5 separate regions of the Homo sapiens genome follow, and regions 2, 3, 4 and 5 are each linked to region 1. Evidence: promoter capture Hi-C in 16 types of primary human blood cells and fetal thymus (Javierre and others, 2016). All regions are on one chromosome and are shown on one strand. The core of a region is centred on a gene start or on the middle of the fragment in contact, and the rest is flanking DNA. Distances in the headings are between cores, read along the strand shown. Region 1 holds the start of ATP6V1E1 (ATPase H+ transporting V1 subunit E1). Region 2 overlaps CECR7 (cat eye syndrome chromosome region, candidate 7). Region 3 overlaps IL17RA (interleukin 17 receptor A). Region 4 holds the start of USP18 (ubiquitin specific peptidase 18). Region 5 overlaps IL17RA (interleukin 17 receptor A).

Region 1 (2,939 bases), core at 292-2,791:
CGCTCGGCCTCCCGGGTTCACGCCATTCTCCTGCCTCAGCCTCCCGAGTAGCTGGGACTACAGGCGCCCGCCACCATGCCCGGCTAATTTTTTGTATTTTTAATAGAGATGGGGTTTCACCATGCTGGCCAGGCTCGTCTCGAACTCCTGACCTCAGGTGATCCGCCCTCCTCAGCCTCCCAAAGTGCTGGTATTACAGACGTGAGCCACCATGCCCGGCCCCAGCCTGTATCTCACAAATGTTAACACACACATTAGTGGGAGACCAATCATTACAATCCATTATGATAGAGGGGACTTCCCCAAAATGAAGATTAACAGTACATACAGGCCTGGCGCGTTGGCTCATGCCTGTAATCCCAGCACTTTGGGAGGCCCAGGTGGGAAGATCACCTGAGGTCAGGAGTTCAAGACCAGCCAGGCCAATATGGTGAGACCCTGCCTCTACTAAAAAAAATACAAAAATTAGCCGGGCTTGGGGCGCGAGTCTGTAATCCCAGCTTCTAGGGAGGCTGAGGCAGGAGAATCACTTGAACCCGGGGCGGAGGTTGCAGTGAGCCGAGATCGCGCCCTTGCACTCCAGCCTGGGCGACAGAGTGAGACTCCGTCTCAAAAAAAAAAAAAAGAAAAAAAGAAAAAAACACAGTTCATAAAGTGAACGACCTTGTCAAAACACTGGTTGGAAGCAGGTCTCTTCCCTCCGCACTGTTTCCTATCATATAGCCTTAAGCATTTCCCTCAGGGTTAAAAAAAAAAAAAGTGACAAGGCTGGTTTGTTTTTTTTTTTTCTTTTTCCAGAGGGAGTCTCGCCCTGTCGCCCATGCTGGAGTGCAAAGGCGCGATCTCGGCTAACTGCAACCTCCGCCTCCGGGTTCAGCTTCCCGAGTAGCTGGGATTACAGGCGCGCGCCACCACGTCCGGCTAATTTTCTATTTTTAGTAGAGACCGGGGTTTCACCATTTTGGCCAGGCTAGTCTCGGACTCCTGACCTCAGGTGATCCGGCCGCCTCGGCCTCCCAAAATACTGGGATTACAGGCGTGAGCCACTGCCCCTGGCCACAAGGCTGTTTTCAATCCTTGCACAGATCTCTGTCCGACTAGGCACAGTGAATACCCTTGGAAAACAGGGAATGCTGAGGTGGGAGGCAAAGAGCCAGGGCGTTCAAGAAGGCAGCGCGCAGGCAAGCGGGCAGTGCCCAAGACCCGAGCAAAAGTCACATGAGCTGCGGGGCAAATCTCCGTCCTCAGGCCGACCTCTTGGATCTGGTGACTTGGAGCAAGGGACCTTCCTGCGGCATCTGGGCGGCTCAAGGCCCGCGGCCTTCCCTAGGCGGGCTCCAGCCCACTCCCCGGGACTGCCGCCGCGGCTTCGTAAGACCCAACCAAGCCCCTCACCTGCTTTTGCACGTCAGCATCGCTGAGAGCCATGGCGAGAGCAATGCTAGGCCGGTGAACAGTAGGCTCGAGTTTAGGTTTGAAAGGTGAGGTGAGAGAAATCGGCAAAGGGAACCCCTGCGCAGATCTCGGGTTCCTTTACTTTATAACCGCGGGTTCCGGTTCCTGCCAGGTGACTGCACAGTTCATCCTCATGACCCTTCTCAGCCAATGGGAAGAGAGCGACGCCCAGGAAGTCCCGCCCTGTCCCGGCCTGTGGGCGCGTCCTCGGGTCCTTCTACGTCGCTGACTCGTGACCTGACCGGTATTTTTTTCCTAAACTGGGATCTTGGGTAGGAGGAAGAAAAGATAAGGAGTTCCTCTATCTGAAATTAGTCGGGCTGTTTTGAGGAGTACTGGTTAGGTATATTGGAGAATGTGCCTTTATTGGAATTTTTCGCATAATTACACAGGGTTATGGGCTTAGGGGTACATGATTGTTGGCCGGGCGTGGTGGCTCACGCCTGCAATCCGGAGACTTTGGGAGACCAAGGCGGGTGTATCGCTTGACCTCAAGTTCGAGACCAGGCTGGACAACATAGAGGAACCCCGTCTCTACCAAAAGAAAAAAAAAAGGGGGATACATGATTTCTGACTATTCATGTCAACCTTGATTACCTGAATAAAGTGTAGGGTTTGTAGGTTTCTCCACTCTGAAGTTACCTTTTTTAACCCCCTTTCCATACTGTAGTCTTAGGAAGGAAGCCACTATACAAAGCCCACACCTAGGGAGTGGGAAGCTATGCTCAACTTCCTTATTAGGGTGGAGCAGCTACATAATTTATTTGGAACTTTTCTGAGATAGCCTATATATTTTTCAAAAGCCTTCCCAGGTCCCATTTAGAGGAATATTAGGACAGAAATCCCCCCAGGCTCATTTGTTTTTATTTGGATTTACCTCAAGCCCGTTTTTTTCCCCAAAATCCCAAAGGCAAAAACTTTTGAAAATTCCTTTATCTTTAGGATAGACTGACTCCTAATAGTAGAATAAGAGGTCAAATGGTACACCCACTTTTTTCTTTTTACTGTGCTATGGTTACCCACCATTTTTATTAGCTTTTTATCTTGAAGAAATTTGAGATATAGTAACTTGTAAGAATACTGCATTGACCTCCCTTCACCTAGATTCAACAATTGTTAACATTTTGCTACATGTACATTAACACTTTATTTTCATACACACACACACACACACACACACACACACTTCCTATTTTAGTGTGTCATAAGAACGAGGATGTAGCAAATTCAGGAAATTTAGTTTACTAGGCTGAACATTAATTTCCTTTGTCCCGGGCCAGGCGCGGTGTCTCACGCCTGTAATCCCACCACTTTGGGAGGCTGAGGTGGGCAGATCACCTGAGGTCGGGATTTCGAGACCAGCCTGACCAACATGGAGAAACCCCAGTCTCTACTAAAAATACAAAATTAACAGGCGTGGTGGTGTGTGCCTGTAATCCCAGCCACTGGAGAGGCTGAGGCAGGAGAATTGCTTCAACCCAGGA
Region 2 (2,939 bases), core at 151-2,650, 570 kb before region 1:
AAGATTGTCTCAAAATACCACTAAAAGAAAACAAGCCTTCCTGGAGAGAGTGCTGATTCCAGGTCTAGGCCAGAAATGTATAAGATAAGCCTGGAACACTGTCACTCTGGATAGCAAGGAATCTATCAAAGATTAGGATGCTTTCAACACGTCTGAAGAGCCAATCTGAAGGGACTCCTTCTAACCAAAGATAGGACATTTTATACATTAATAAGGATAATAATTGCAGTGGATTGAAATACATCAAATGTGTTTGAATGTCTGCATTCATAATGATTCTTTATAAAAAATAAAAGTGGGTTGGCCAGCCACAAGGGCTCATGCCTGTAATCCCAGCACTTAGGGAGGCCAAGGCAGGAAGATCACCCGAGGTCAGGAGTTCGCAACCAGCCTGGCCAACCTGGTGAAACCGCATCTCTACTAAAAGTACAAAATTAGCTGGGTGTAATGGTGCATGCCTGTAATCCCAGCTACTCAGGAGGGTGAGGCAGGAGAATCACTTGAACCCAGGAGGTGGAGGTTGCAGTAAGCCGAGACCTCGCCATTGCGCTCCAGCCTGGGCAACAGAGCAAGACTCCATCTCAAAAAAAAAGAATAAATAAATAAATAAATGTGGGCTGGGGACAGTGGCTCATGCCTTTGGGAGGCCGAGGCAGGAGAATCACTTCAGCCCAGGAGTTCAAGACCAGCCTGGACAACACAGGGGGACCCTGTCTCTACAAAAAATGTTTTAAATTACTCAGGCTTAAGGGCCCATGTCTGTGGTCCCAGGTACTCAGGAGGCTGAGATGGGAGGATTGCCTGAGCACAGAAGTTTGAGGCTGTGGTGGCATGATTGTCCCACTGCATGCCAGCCTGAGCAACAGAGCTAGACCGTCCCTGTCTAAATAAATAAACAAATAAAAGTAGTCACCATCAAAGGATATAAATGAAGCAGACCATCATTTTGAAAAATGGTAAACAAAAAGAACAAATCAAGCCACTAACTGGCCTTTTCTATATAAATTGTACAACTGGGTAGCACAATAATTTATAAGAAGCTGCATCTCTTTTTTATATTTACTTTTTTTTCTTCATGGAAGGCCCTTCTCAGGGTAGCAATATTTCTTTCTGGAAGTATGGCAGCTCATAAATGAAGAAGGAATGATATAACAATACCATCATTGTTCAATCCATAATTGATCACTGGCTGTTAACATTATAAAAAAAAAAAGGTGGCCAGAGAGTACACACCTCCTGCTGGAAGAACTTAGCACAGTCTTTTTGCCTTGACCCCTCAAATCCAACATGAATCTGATCAAGCTTTCAGATCAAACTACTAATTTATCAAAACTAGAACAAAGTGAAGAACAAGTTAATCAACATCACAAGGATACAATTAGCCAAATTCAAACTACCAGAAATAGCATAATGAGAATACAGTTAGCATAATCCAAACTATGGGGAAACTGCCTAATTTATTAAATAAACTGCAAGAGACAAAAAAGAGATCAAGTGGGGAAGCTTTCAGGATCAAAAAAAAGCTAAGATACGAATGAAGCAATCCAAAAGAGAGACTTTATTTGGATCCTGATTCAAACAAACAAAAAAAATATGAAATTACTGGAAATTTGGAGCTAGCAGGGGAGTTGACAATATTAAAGAGCAATGGTGTGGGATGGTTGGTTGAACATGGTATTGGGATTATGTTTTTAAAAGAGTTCTTGTCACCAGGAAAGTGGTTCATACCTGTAATCTCAGTATTTTGGGAGGCCGAGGCAGGAAGATCATTTGAAGCTGGGAATTCTAGACCAGCCGGGCAACATAGCAAGACCCTGTCTCTACTAAAATAAAAATTAAAAATTAGCTGGGCATGGGGGTGTGGGTCTATAGTCCCAGCTACTTAGGAAGCTGAGGCAGGAGGGGTCAAGGCCACAGTGAGCCATAATCGTGCCACTGAATTCCAGCCCGGGCGACAGAGGCCTTGTCTTGAAAGAACAAAACAAGAATCCTTATCTTTTACAGACATATACCAAGACATTCAGGGAGGAAATTATATGATATGTGGGATTTGCTATAAAATAACGAGAGGAAGAGGAGAAGCATGCAGGAGTGTACATGAAACAAGATTGGCCACGAGATGACAAATATCTGAATCCGCTGATGAGTAGGTGAAAGCTCACTACGCTAGCCTCTTGTTTAAAATGCTCCAGAATAGAAAGTGTGTCTGAAAATCCACTTCATGGGTTTGTAGCAAGCATTGAATAAGATCATGTATACAGAGTGCTTTATAACCATGGCTTACAGGTAGTCAGTACACATTGTTTTTAGTTTTGTATACTCCCCGTCCATTAATCACATCCAAAAAAGGTATGTTATTCACACTAAGAGCTCTGGCCCATGGACCTTTGTCCACTTGGTGGTAATTTATTGAAATTTGGGGTTTAGAATGAGGAAATGCCAGCCTTCAGAGCCCCAGGCTTACTATGCAACAGCAAAGCCAACAGTCCCAAATGCCTTCCTAGCACACCTAGTAAGTAGGATCACTTTCCTCTCACCTTGTAGGCATACTTGAGTTCATTCACTCATTCATTCACTATTTTTCATTCATTTCTTATGTGCCAGGTATTGGGTGTTAGGAATCCATAATACAGTGAACCCATAATTGACTGCAAGCATCACTTTCAAAGCATCATTTCAGGATGAGAATTTAAGTGCCAAGTGAATTCAAGGAACAGTGCAAAGGATCCATGGCCTCAGTCACCATGAAGACCCTCCCAAGAGCCAGCCCTACTGGGCACATATAAATGAGTGGAGACCTGGAATTCACCCTTACAAAGCCTAGAACCTGACAGAGCACACAAGACAAAAGCCCAAATAACCAAGAACAGGGAGCAGAATGTGAGAGGTGGGCCCCAAAGGATTCAGCCACCAAGGTGGAGAAAGTAATGTGTGCAGAG
Region 3 (2,939 bases), core at 221-2,720, 540 kb before region 1:
GGGGTTCAGAGAGCTTCCAGGTAGTGGAACATGTGGAGGTTCCTGGAGGGTGGCACACCTGAGGAGGGCATGGAAGCTTTGTACTCCTTCTCCTATACCTCACCTTTTCTTCTGTATTATTTGTGATATCCTTAAAATAAACTGGGAAATGTGTTTCCCTGAGTTCTCTGAGCAGCTTTAGCAAATTAATTGAACTGAAAGAGAGGAGCATGAGAATCTCACGTTGAACCCGGTTGGTCTTAGAAGTTCTGGAGGCCCAGACTTACCACTGGTGTCTAGGGGGTGGGCGGTCTTGGGGACTGAGCACTCAACCTGTGGGATCTGATGCTATCTCCAAATAGTGTCAGAATTAAATTGGAGGATACCCAGCTGGTGTCTGCTGCCGAATTGATTGCTTGCTTGGTGGTGGGAAGAAACCACCCCCCGCCAATATGTAGTCACAGAAGTCTTCTGTGACTTCTGTTGATTGTTGTGGTGATGTGAGGGCAGAGGAAAAATACAGCTTGAGTTTTTCCACACTCTCGGGGAATATGTGTCCTTCTCTTCCAGAATATTTTCTTTCTTTCCTTTTTTAAAAAATAACTTCTTCCTTCTGTTTTTTTGTTAATCTCCTTCTAGAAATCTAGTCAATCATATTTTGTTTCCTAAATTGAATCTCTAATGATCATATATTTTTTCCTATTCTATTTGTGCTTTCAGAGAAATGTCCTCAATTTCATAGACTAACCCTTCTATTGAATTTTTATTTAGTAGAACTTCTATTGAGTTTCAAGGTTCAGTTTTCATTCTCTGCCTGCTCATTTGTCCATGGTGTCCTGCCCCTGTCTTACAGATGCAGTGTTGTATCTCTTCGGGGCTATAATAATTTTACTTGTTTGGTTTAATTGTGTTAACAGCATTGTTTTTTTTTTCCTTCCAGGAGCATTTTTTAATTGTTTTGATCTATTTTTCATACAGAAAACCTATCTCAAATATCTGGTACTCCTTGGCTGTCTGAGAATATTTTAAGAATGAAGTCCTAAAAGCTGATTAAATGCTCTGTGTAGTTAAGGTTTATTGAACATTGGACTTCACTGTATAGGAGGTCAAGCTAATCGTGAACCTGGCCTATTGGGTGACCTCCAAATGCTGAAATCTGGAGGTGTTTTTTTTGGGCCTGGCTGCCAGCATTCTGAGATCAGAGCACGGAAAGAGAGGATAAGGTTCCCAACACTCCATATGTAGACCTTCACTTAATTCTCCCTGCCCCTAAGCCCTGAACGTTATAAGGTTCTGAGGGGCCCCTGGCCTCCTTATCAATAACTCCCTTTTGTAGCATTCAGACAGAAGTTCCTCCACTCAGCACAAGCCAGCTGCCTACTCTGCTGCCACTTGGACAGTTATTTATTTATTCATTCATTTGTTCATTTTTGAGGTTTTATAATTTTATTTGACATCAACAGTTTGTTCTCATCCACAATGTCTGACTGTCAGTTTCTGAAAGTGGTAATGGGTACACAGGTAACCAAAGTATAGAGCTTGCTTGGTGAATCTTCATCCTCATGCTTTCTGGACAGCTGCACATGGACACAGTATGGAACGTTCCTTATTCCTTTGGTCCAGACAGCTTTGTTGAGCCTGGTGTTAGCATATCTGGAGTCCCCATCTCCTTCATGGCAAAGTTCTGGGACTTTTTGAGTGACCAAGGGGCACACTGCTTGACGTCCCCTCCATGGGTGTGCTTGTGGATGCTGATGGCATATTCTGGTGTCACCACCTCATTGGTGGCAGGTGACAGAATAGCCCTTTTATTTTATTTTATCTTACTTTATTTTATTTTATTTTATTTTATTTAGACAGAGTCTCGCTCTGTCGCCCAGGATAGAGTACAGTGGCACAGTCTTGGCTCACTGAAGCCTCTGCCTCCCAGGTTCAAGCAATTCTCCCACCTCAGCCTCTCAAATAGCTGGGACTACAGGCACATGCCACCACACCCAGCTAATTTTTGTATTTTTAGTAGAGACAGGGTTTCACCATCTCTTGGCCAGGCTGGTCTTAAACTCCTGACTTCAGGTGATCCACCTACCTCAGCCTCCCAAAAGTGCTGGGATTACACGCATGAGCCACTGCGCCCAGCCAACACTCTTCTTTACAGGAGCTATGCTGCTGGGGCCAAGTTGGAAAGGACTTTTAAAATTTTGTTCACATCTTTTGTCCACTGAGTTTGGCTCTTTGAGTTTGAGAATTTACAAAAAAAAATGTTCTTTCCTATAATTGTTATATTGTTTGGAGAGAGGGAGAAAATATGTGTATATGGTCAATGCGCTATTACCTCTAATAGAATTGTTATTCTATATTTCACCTATATGTATATTTTTCAGTTTTGATTAAATCTTTTTTCCCCTTATCTTCCCTCATGCCATCTCCTCTGCTTGTGTGCCCTTTGCCCCCAGCAAACTGTGTTAACACCTGTTAACATGTTTCTATTCTCATTTAGTCATACACACACTCTCTCTCTCTCTCTCTCTCTCTCTCTCTCTCTCTATATATATATATATATATATATATATTCAGGGAGATCTTTTTCATGACTTATTTCCATAGAAATTGGGATCATACTATAAAAAGTTATTTGAAACTTATTTTCCTCTCTCATCAACACATTCCAGCCATCTGCAGGTCAACAGATGTCTATGCAACTAATTCTCATTCTCTTTAATATTTGCATAATATTCCATAGTAGATAGCAATCTATTCAACCATTTCTAGTTTGATGGACATTTAGATTTAAACTAGATCTCACCTTAATTCAGCCATTCTCTATTGATGACCATTCAGTACCACAGAAAAAGAGGGAAAGCTGTCCATTTTTTTTAAAGCTAGTATAAGCTTAATTCTAAAACTTGACAAATCTTATACAAAAAGAAAAACTATGGACCAATCTCATTTATGAACATAAA
Region 4 (2,939 bases), core at 292-2,791, 520 kb after region 1:
TGCTGCACTGTGGGCGACACTGCCTCCGTTCCAGCAGCAATGTAAGCGGAGTCTGGGCTGACGATGGACGTGTGGATAGCCTGTATGTGTATATCTGTGCTCATGCTTCTAACACACATCCACCCTATTATGGACACGTTTATACATCTTCATGCCATGGTATTTTGTACCTTACTGCAGACCCTACCAACGCTTCAGTGAGGTTCTGGCAGCTTTGGGTTTTTGGAGGCTATTTGTCTGTTGCTGCGGGGACGGCTTTCAGAAAGAATGATCGCTTTGGGGGAATTGTACCCTGCTTTCCTGCGCAAATTCCAGCGGCTGGAGTTTGAGGCCCCTAGCAGATAACCCTTCTGCCCCTACCCCCATGAGTCTACATACAAGAAATACATCTCTAAAGAGGTAATAAGCCTTTCCGGTGTGCATGTTACAGATCTCTTAACCTTATATATACACAGATGGTCCATCACTTACCGTGGTTTCACTTACGATGTTTCGACTTCATGATGGGTTCACTGGGACTTGACCCCATTTTTTTTTTTTTTTTTTAGACGGAGTCTTGCTCTTGTCGATCTCTGCTCACTGCAACCTCCGCTTCTTGGGTTCAAGTTATTCTCCTGCCTCAGCCTCTTAAGTAGCTGGGATTAAGCGCCACCACGCCGAGCTAATTTTTGTACTTTTAGTAGAGATGGGGTTTCACTATGTTGGTCAGGCTGGTCTCGAACTCCTGACCTCAGGTGATCCGCCTGCCTCAGCATCCCAAAGTGCTGGGATTACAGGTGTGAGCCACCGCGCCCCCTGACCCCTTCTTAAGTGGAGAAATATCTGTATCTGCATGCCCACAGGGGAGCTCCTAATTACACCATGTGCCGCATCCAAGCCACAGGCCGGTGATGTGAAGACACCCGATCCAAGAAATACAATAGCATTAAGAAAGAAAAAATGCTGCCATGGATACTACCAAACGCCAAATGACTCTAACACGTAGGCTAATTGCAAGGACCTTAAAATCGCAAATAAAAAGGCGCCTGTAGGTCGGGCGCGGTGGCCCACACCTGTAATCCCAGCACTTTAGGAGGCGGGCGGATCACCTGAGACCAGCCTGGCCAGCATGGCGGAACCCCATCGCTACTAAAATACAAAAATTAGCCAGGAGTGGTGGCGCATGCCTGTAATCCCAGCTACTCCGGAGCCTGAGGCAGGAGAATCGCTTGAACCCAGGAGGCGGAGTTTGCAGTGAACCGAGACAGCGCAACCGCACTCCAGCCTGGACGACAGAATGAGACTCCGTCTCAAAAAAAAAAAAAAAAAAAAAAAGCGAGGGCTGGAAGTCTGGAGCAGGTGCGCGGCTGCAACGGCAGCCGCGGGAAGCTCGGGCCGGCAGGGTTTCCCCGCACGCTGGCGCCCAGCTCCCGGCGCGGAGGCCGCTGTAAGTTTCGCTTTCCATTCAGTGGAAAACGAAAGCTGGGCGGGGTGCCACGAGCGCGGGGCCAGACCAAGGCGGGCCCGGAGCGGAACTTCGGTCCCAGCTCGGTCCCCGGCTCAGTCCCGACGTGGAACTCAGCAGCGGAGGCTGGACGCTTGCATGGCGCTTGAGGCAAGTTCGGGGCTCATTTTGGAAGTTTTCTTTCTAGCACAGACATCCAACTCTGCTCCTATGCCAGTCAGATAATTAAGGAATTAAGTAATAATTGTGCTCTGCAAATTATGATAGTGATCTGTATTTACTACGTGCATATATTTTGGGCCAGTGAATTTTTTTCTAAGCTAATATAGTTATTTGGACTTTTGACATGACTTTGTGTTTAATTAAAACAAAAAAAGAAATTGCAGAAGTGTTGTAAGCTTGTAAAAAAATTCAAACAATGCAGACAAATGTGTCTCGCAGTCTTCCACTCAGTATCATTTTTGTTTGTACCTTATCAGAAATGTTTCTATGTACAAGTCTTTAAAATCATTTCGAACTTGCTTTGTCCACTGAGTATATTATGGACATCTTTTCATGGCAGGACATATAGATGTGTTAATGGCATTAAAAATAAAACAAAAAACTGATTCGGCCGGGTACGGTGGCTCACGCCTGTAATCCCAGCACTTTGGGAGATCGAGGAGGGAGGATCACCTGAGGTCAGGAGTTACAGACATGGAGAAACCCCGTCTCTACTAAAAATACAAAATTAGCCTGGCGTGGTGGCGCATGCCTGTAATCCCAGCTACTCGGGAGGCTGAGGCAGGAGAATCGCTTGAACCCGGGAGCGGAGGTTGCGGTGAGCCGAGATCGCACCGTTGCACTCCAGCCTGGGCGACAGAGCGAAACTGTCTCAAACAAACAAACAAAAAAACCTGATACATGGTATGGGAAGTACATTGTTTAAACAATGCATGGAGATTTAGGTTGTTTCCAGTTTTTACTGGCACAGATACGGCAATGAATATAATTTTATGTATACATTCATACAAATATATCGGTGGAAAATTCCTAGAAGTGGAATGGCTGGGTCAGTGGGCATTCATATTGAGAAATTGGAAGGATGTTGTCAAACTCTGCAAATCAGAGTATTTTAGTCTTAACCTCTCTTCTTCACACCCTTTTCCTTGGAAGAAAGCTAAATTTAGACTTTTAAACACAAAACTCCATTTTGAGACCCCTGAAAATCTGGGTTCAAAGTGTTTGAAAATTAAAGCAGAGGCTTTAATTTGTACTTATTTAGGTATAATTTGTACTTTAAAGTTGTTCCAGAAAACAAGGCAAATACTGAAAAGCATTTCATCTGAAGTTTCTTTCTGGTATTGAACAGAGTTGGATGGAGAGTGAATGCAGGTTACCGATGTGTTCGCAGGAACAAAACGGGAGGGAGAGTAACACAGGTGCACGGCTTCATATTGATTTATCAAAGAACTTGCTTTTGGACTGTTAAAAAATGTGTTGCACAGTTCTGACA
Region 5 (2,939 bases), core at 140-2,639, 510 kb before region 1:
AAACCAAAATCGGTGAGCGCCAGCTTGCTTCCCTAGAAGACATTTCTAAATATTCATAACATGCTTGCTCAAATCAATCACCTTATTTTACATCCGCTCCAGGGAGAAATGAAGACATGGTCCTACGTTGTTCTGTAATTATTTTCTATGTAAATTTTGTTCCTTGTTACAATTATATATGTCTTAGGGGAAAGGACCATTTCACATGTGTCACCTCATGTGATTCTCACCACAGCCCTGTGATTGCTCCTGTTTTATAAATAATGACATAGTTCCAGTTGATGGCCAAAGCCACAGCTAACGAGAGGCAGAGAGAGCTCAGGCTCCCAGGAGCTTCCACTCTCAGACCTTGCCTCCCGGGCTGCCCTGAGTGAAACGCCTGCTTAGCATTTGGCACAGCCAGAAGCAGCAAGCTAGGGTCACAACACAGAGAGGGGCTGTGTAATACTGGCTGCCTCTGTGCTAAGAAAAAAAAAAAATCACTGTGTGTTTGTTTATTTTGGTGCAGGCCCAGTGTTCTTGCTTAGACTTAATACTACCCTTCATGTTAAAATAAAACCAAACAAAAACCCATGGCCTTGTTCTTCTTATTCATACGTAAGAATTTGTGCTTCTGGCTGGGGCAAGAGTGATAGAGGAGGGCACAGTATTTAAAAATTAGTTTCTCAAGATGTTCCCCCTTTGGAAAGCTACTCTTTTAGAAAGAAATGGGAAGCCGGGCGTGGTGGCACACTTCTGTAGTCCCAGCTACTTGGGAGGCTGAGGCAGGAGGATTGTTTGAGCCCAGGAGGTTGAGGCTGCAGTGAACTATGATGGCGCCACTGCACTCCAGCCCAGGTGACAGAGTGAGACCCTGTCTCAAAAACAAAGAAAAAGAAAGAAGGAAGGAAAGAAAAGTGAGAGAGAGCCGAGGGTGATGAGAAAAAATCGTTCTCAGGCTGAGTCCATTAGAGCTGAGCTGGCTGTGCCAACAAAGCATGTCAAGACACTCACCAGCTCCAGGCCACAGCTTCACTGCCTCCCTGAAAAACATGCCAACTGCCTAGAAGGGCCAAGGTGTACCCATAATGTTAACACAAACTTATAAAATAATGGCGAATGTCACAGTGACATTTAAGAATTTTGTAAGGAAACCAGGACAGAAAAGATCTTAAAACAAACCACACAGGAAGCTTGTCACAAGTCTCAAGTTTTTTATTTTCAGAACAGAGTCTGGTTTTATTTTTAAAAAGAGAAGGAAAAAAGTGATAAATGCTAGTGAGGTGCCACTTCCCTCCTTCTTCCAGGCTCTAACCGCCAGCTAGCTCTCTTTCACAAAACCCACGGATGCAGAATCAGGACATGTTAAAATGGAACAGTCTTTAGAGAGGGTCTAGTCTTTTTAAAATAAGTAAGGATTTGGGGACTAACAGAGAGGAAGCCCCTGACTTGCTGAATTGTTAGGAGCAGGCGGTTCTCGAGATTCTGAGCCCAGGATCCTTTTCTGTGAACCATGCACGTGCTGGCACTGGCCTCAGGAGACAGTGCCCTGCCTTGGCTGTCAGGTCCACGGAGAAATCTCAGGTTTGCCCCTTCACTAGGGATGCCCTAGAAAGCAAGGGCAAAGGAAGCTTTAGGGGTCATCGTGACTGGGGCAGGGGAAGTGAGTGCAAGGACTCAAGAAAAACACAGCAGAGGAAGGGACTGACCCTCTGAGCACACAGTGGTTGACCCACATGTGTAAAAGAGGGTGACTGGGGCTGAACTGGGGGCCTGATATCTGCCAGAATTGGCCAAGTTGCCATCAGCTTCTTGACATATCCAGGGAAGTGGCAGCTCATTGGAACTTATCACAGCCTCCCACCAAAAACCTAACAAACAGTACAGAGATTTTACAGTCAGGGAGGCCCAGCAGGAGATGGCCATCCAAACAATAGAAGGGGGGCAGATCAGGGGGCCAGCCAGCGGCTGGCCATGGCTCAGACACAATGTCCTTTCACAGTCACTGAGATTAGGTAGCAGAGAAACACAGCAAAGCTGGAGAGAGGACATGGGAACAGCGAGCAGCTGTTGGTACCCACCCAGGGCCCAGGCCCCAGAACCTTGAGTACAATCAAAGGGAGAGGAGAGGAGTCAGTGGGGGCAGGGGAAGAAGGCAGAAAAAAATACCAATTAAGTGTGAAATCCAGCCAGCTATTGGGCCACATAGGGTGAGGGACTGGAAGCACAGATTGTGCATGGAGTGTAAACATTTTCCCCCGCTGTTCCCTGCTCTGAGAGCATGAGGAGGCTCAAGAGAACTCTGGTCAAGCCTTCTGCCCCTCTTATGTCTGTCTACAAGGGTGTCTTCTGCTCCAAGCCCCCAAAACAGTTGTAAGAGGGGGCTTCAAGTGGGAGGCGGGGGCTTGGCCTGGGTGCTGAGTTAACGGCCAGTGACTTGGCACTTCTGACCCTCCCTGTGCACTCTGCAGCTGTGCCAGGCCCTGCCCCACACCCAGCCCAGGCACCCAAGCCCTCCCTCCGGCCTTCTCTGCTGGGGCTTCACACACCCAGTACAGAGCAGGGAATGTTCTGCAAGTGCAGCCTGGCTGGCTTCTCTCCCAGCCACCTTTACAGGGAGCATCAGGACCAGGGCTTTCAAGAGCCACAAACTCAAAAGAATGTGAGAGCTGAAATTACCTTCAACCTTAGAGATCACTCATCTAACTTCTACTTTTTTAATGTGAGAAAACAGGCCCAGGAAATAAAAATATGTCACTCAAAGCCAATGAGTGACAGAATCAGAACTAGAATCCACATCTTCTGGTAACTCGTCTAGAGTTTGTTACACTACATAAAACTTCCCAAACGTAAGAAGGGAGAAGGGGAAACAAAAATTCTTCAAGTTTCACCCCCACCACATCCTGTTGAGGGTGGAGGGAAGTGAGTATTTCCTGGCCTTGTTAGCTGCTGTCCTCCTG

What was found. Contacts are between HindIII fragments. The CHiCAGO score rates a contact against its expected background, and 5 or more counts as called.
Region 2: a contact is called between a fragment that was not itself captured here and the fragment with the promoter of ATP6V1E1 in region 1, in 1 of 17 cell types (non-activated CD4 T cells). The highest score is 5.1, in non-activated CD4 T cells.
Region 3: a fragment that was not itself captured here is called in contact with the fragment with the promoter of ATP6V1E1 in region 1 in 7 of 17 cell types (neutrophils, total CD4 T cells, naive CD4 T cells and 4 more); the score reaches 9.9 in neutrophils.
Region 4: a contact is called between the fragment with the promoter of USP18 here and the fragment with the promoter of ATP6V1E1 in region 1, in 1 of 17 cell types (erythroblasts). The highest score is 7.1, in erythroblasts.
Region 5: a contact is called between a fragment that was not itself captured here and the fragment with the promoter of ATP6V1E1 in region 1, in 5 of 17 cell types (total CD4 T cells, non-activated CD4 T cells, endothelial precursors and 2 more). The highest score is 6.8, in total CD4 T cells.

Annotation. Positions count from the first base shown.
Region 1 is chr22:17,627,208-17,630,146 of GRCh38, forward strand. It overlaps ATP6V1E1 (ATPase H+ transporting V1 subunit E1), which reads right to left and starts at 1,542. Exons shown (of 9, transcript NM_001696.4): 1 at 1,396-1,542. The coding sequence starts at 1,428. It also overlaps a transcript of BCL2L13 not described here. RefSeq lists enhancers at 1,237-1,386, 1,467-1,556, 1,498-1,667. The HindIII fragment of the contact is 8,319 bases long and covers 1-2,939 here.
Region 2 is chr22:17,052,961-17,055,899 of GRCh38, forward strand. All of the region lies in intron 3 of CECR7 (cat eye syndrome chromosome region, candidate 7), which reads left to right. Among named protein-coding and RNA genes, the nearest start is that of CECR7, 18 kb to the left of the region's middle. RefSeq lists an enhancer at 2,620-2,789. The HindIII fragment of the contact is 201 bases long and covers 1,301-1,501 here.
Region 3 is chr22:17,092,170-17,095,108 of GRCh38, forward strand. All of the region lies in intron 1 of IL17RA (interleukin 17 receptor A), which reads left to right. It also overlaps the pseudogene RPL31P62. Among named protein-coding and RNA genes, the nearest start is that of IL17RA, 8.6 kb to the left of the region's middle. The HindIII fragment of the contact is 2,792 bases long and covers 75-2,866 here.
Region 4 is chr22:18,148,629-18,151,567 of GRCh38, forward strand. USP18 (ubiquitin specific peptidase 18) reads left to right here and starts at 1,542. Exons shown (of 11, transcript NM_017414.4): 1 at 1,542-1,594. LOC124905076 (a long non-coding RNA gene) reads right to left here and starts at 586. Exons shown (of 2, transcript XR_007067999.1): 1 at 472-586. RefSeq lists an enhancer at 1,283-1,602. The HindIII fragment of the contact is 4,848 bases long and covers 1-1,840 here.
Region 5 is chr22:17,115,121-17,118,059 of GRCh38, forward strand. IL17RA (interleukin 17 receptor A) reads left to right here. Exons shown (of 13, transcript NM_014339.7): 13 at 1-573. It overlaps TMEM121B (transmembrane protein 121B), which reads right to left. Exons shown (of 1, transcript NM_031890.4): 1 at 1,177-2,939. Among named protein-coding and RNA genes, the nearest start is that of TMEM121B, 4.8 kb to the right of the region's middle. The HindIII fragment of the contact is 438 bases long and covers 1,171-1,608 here.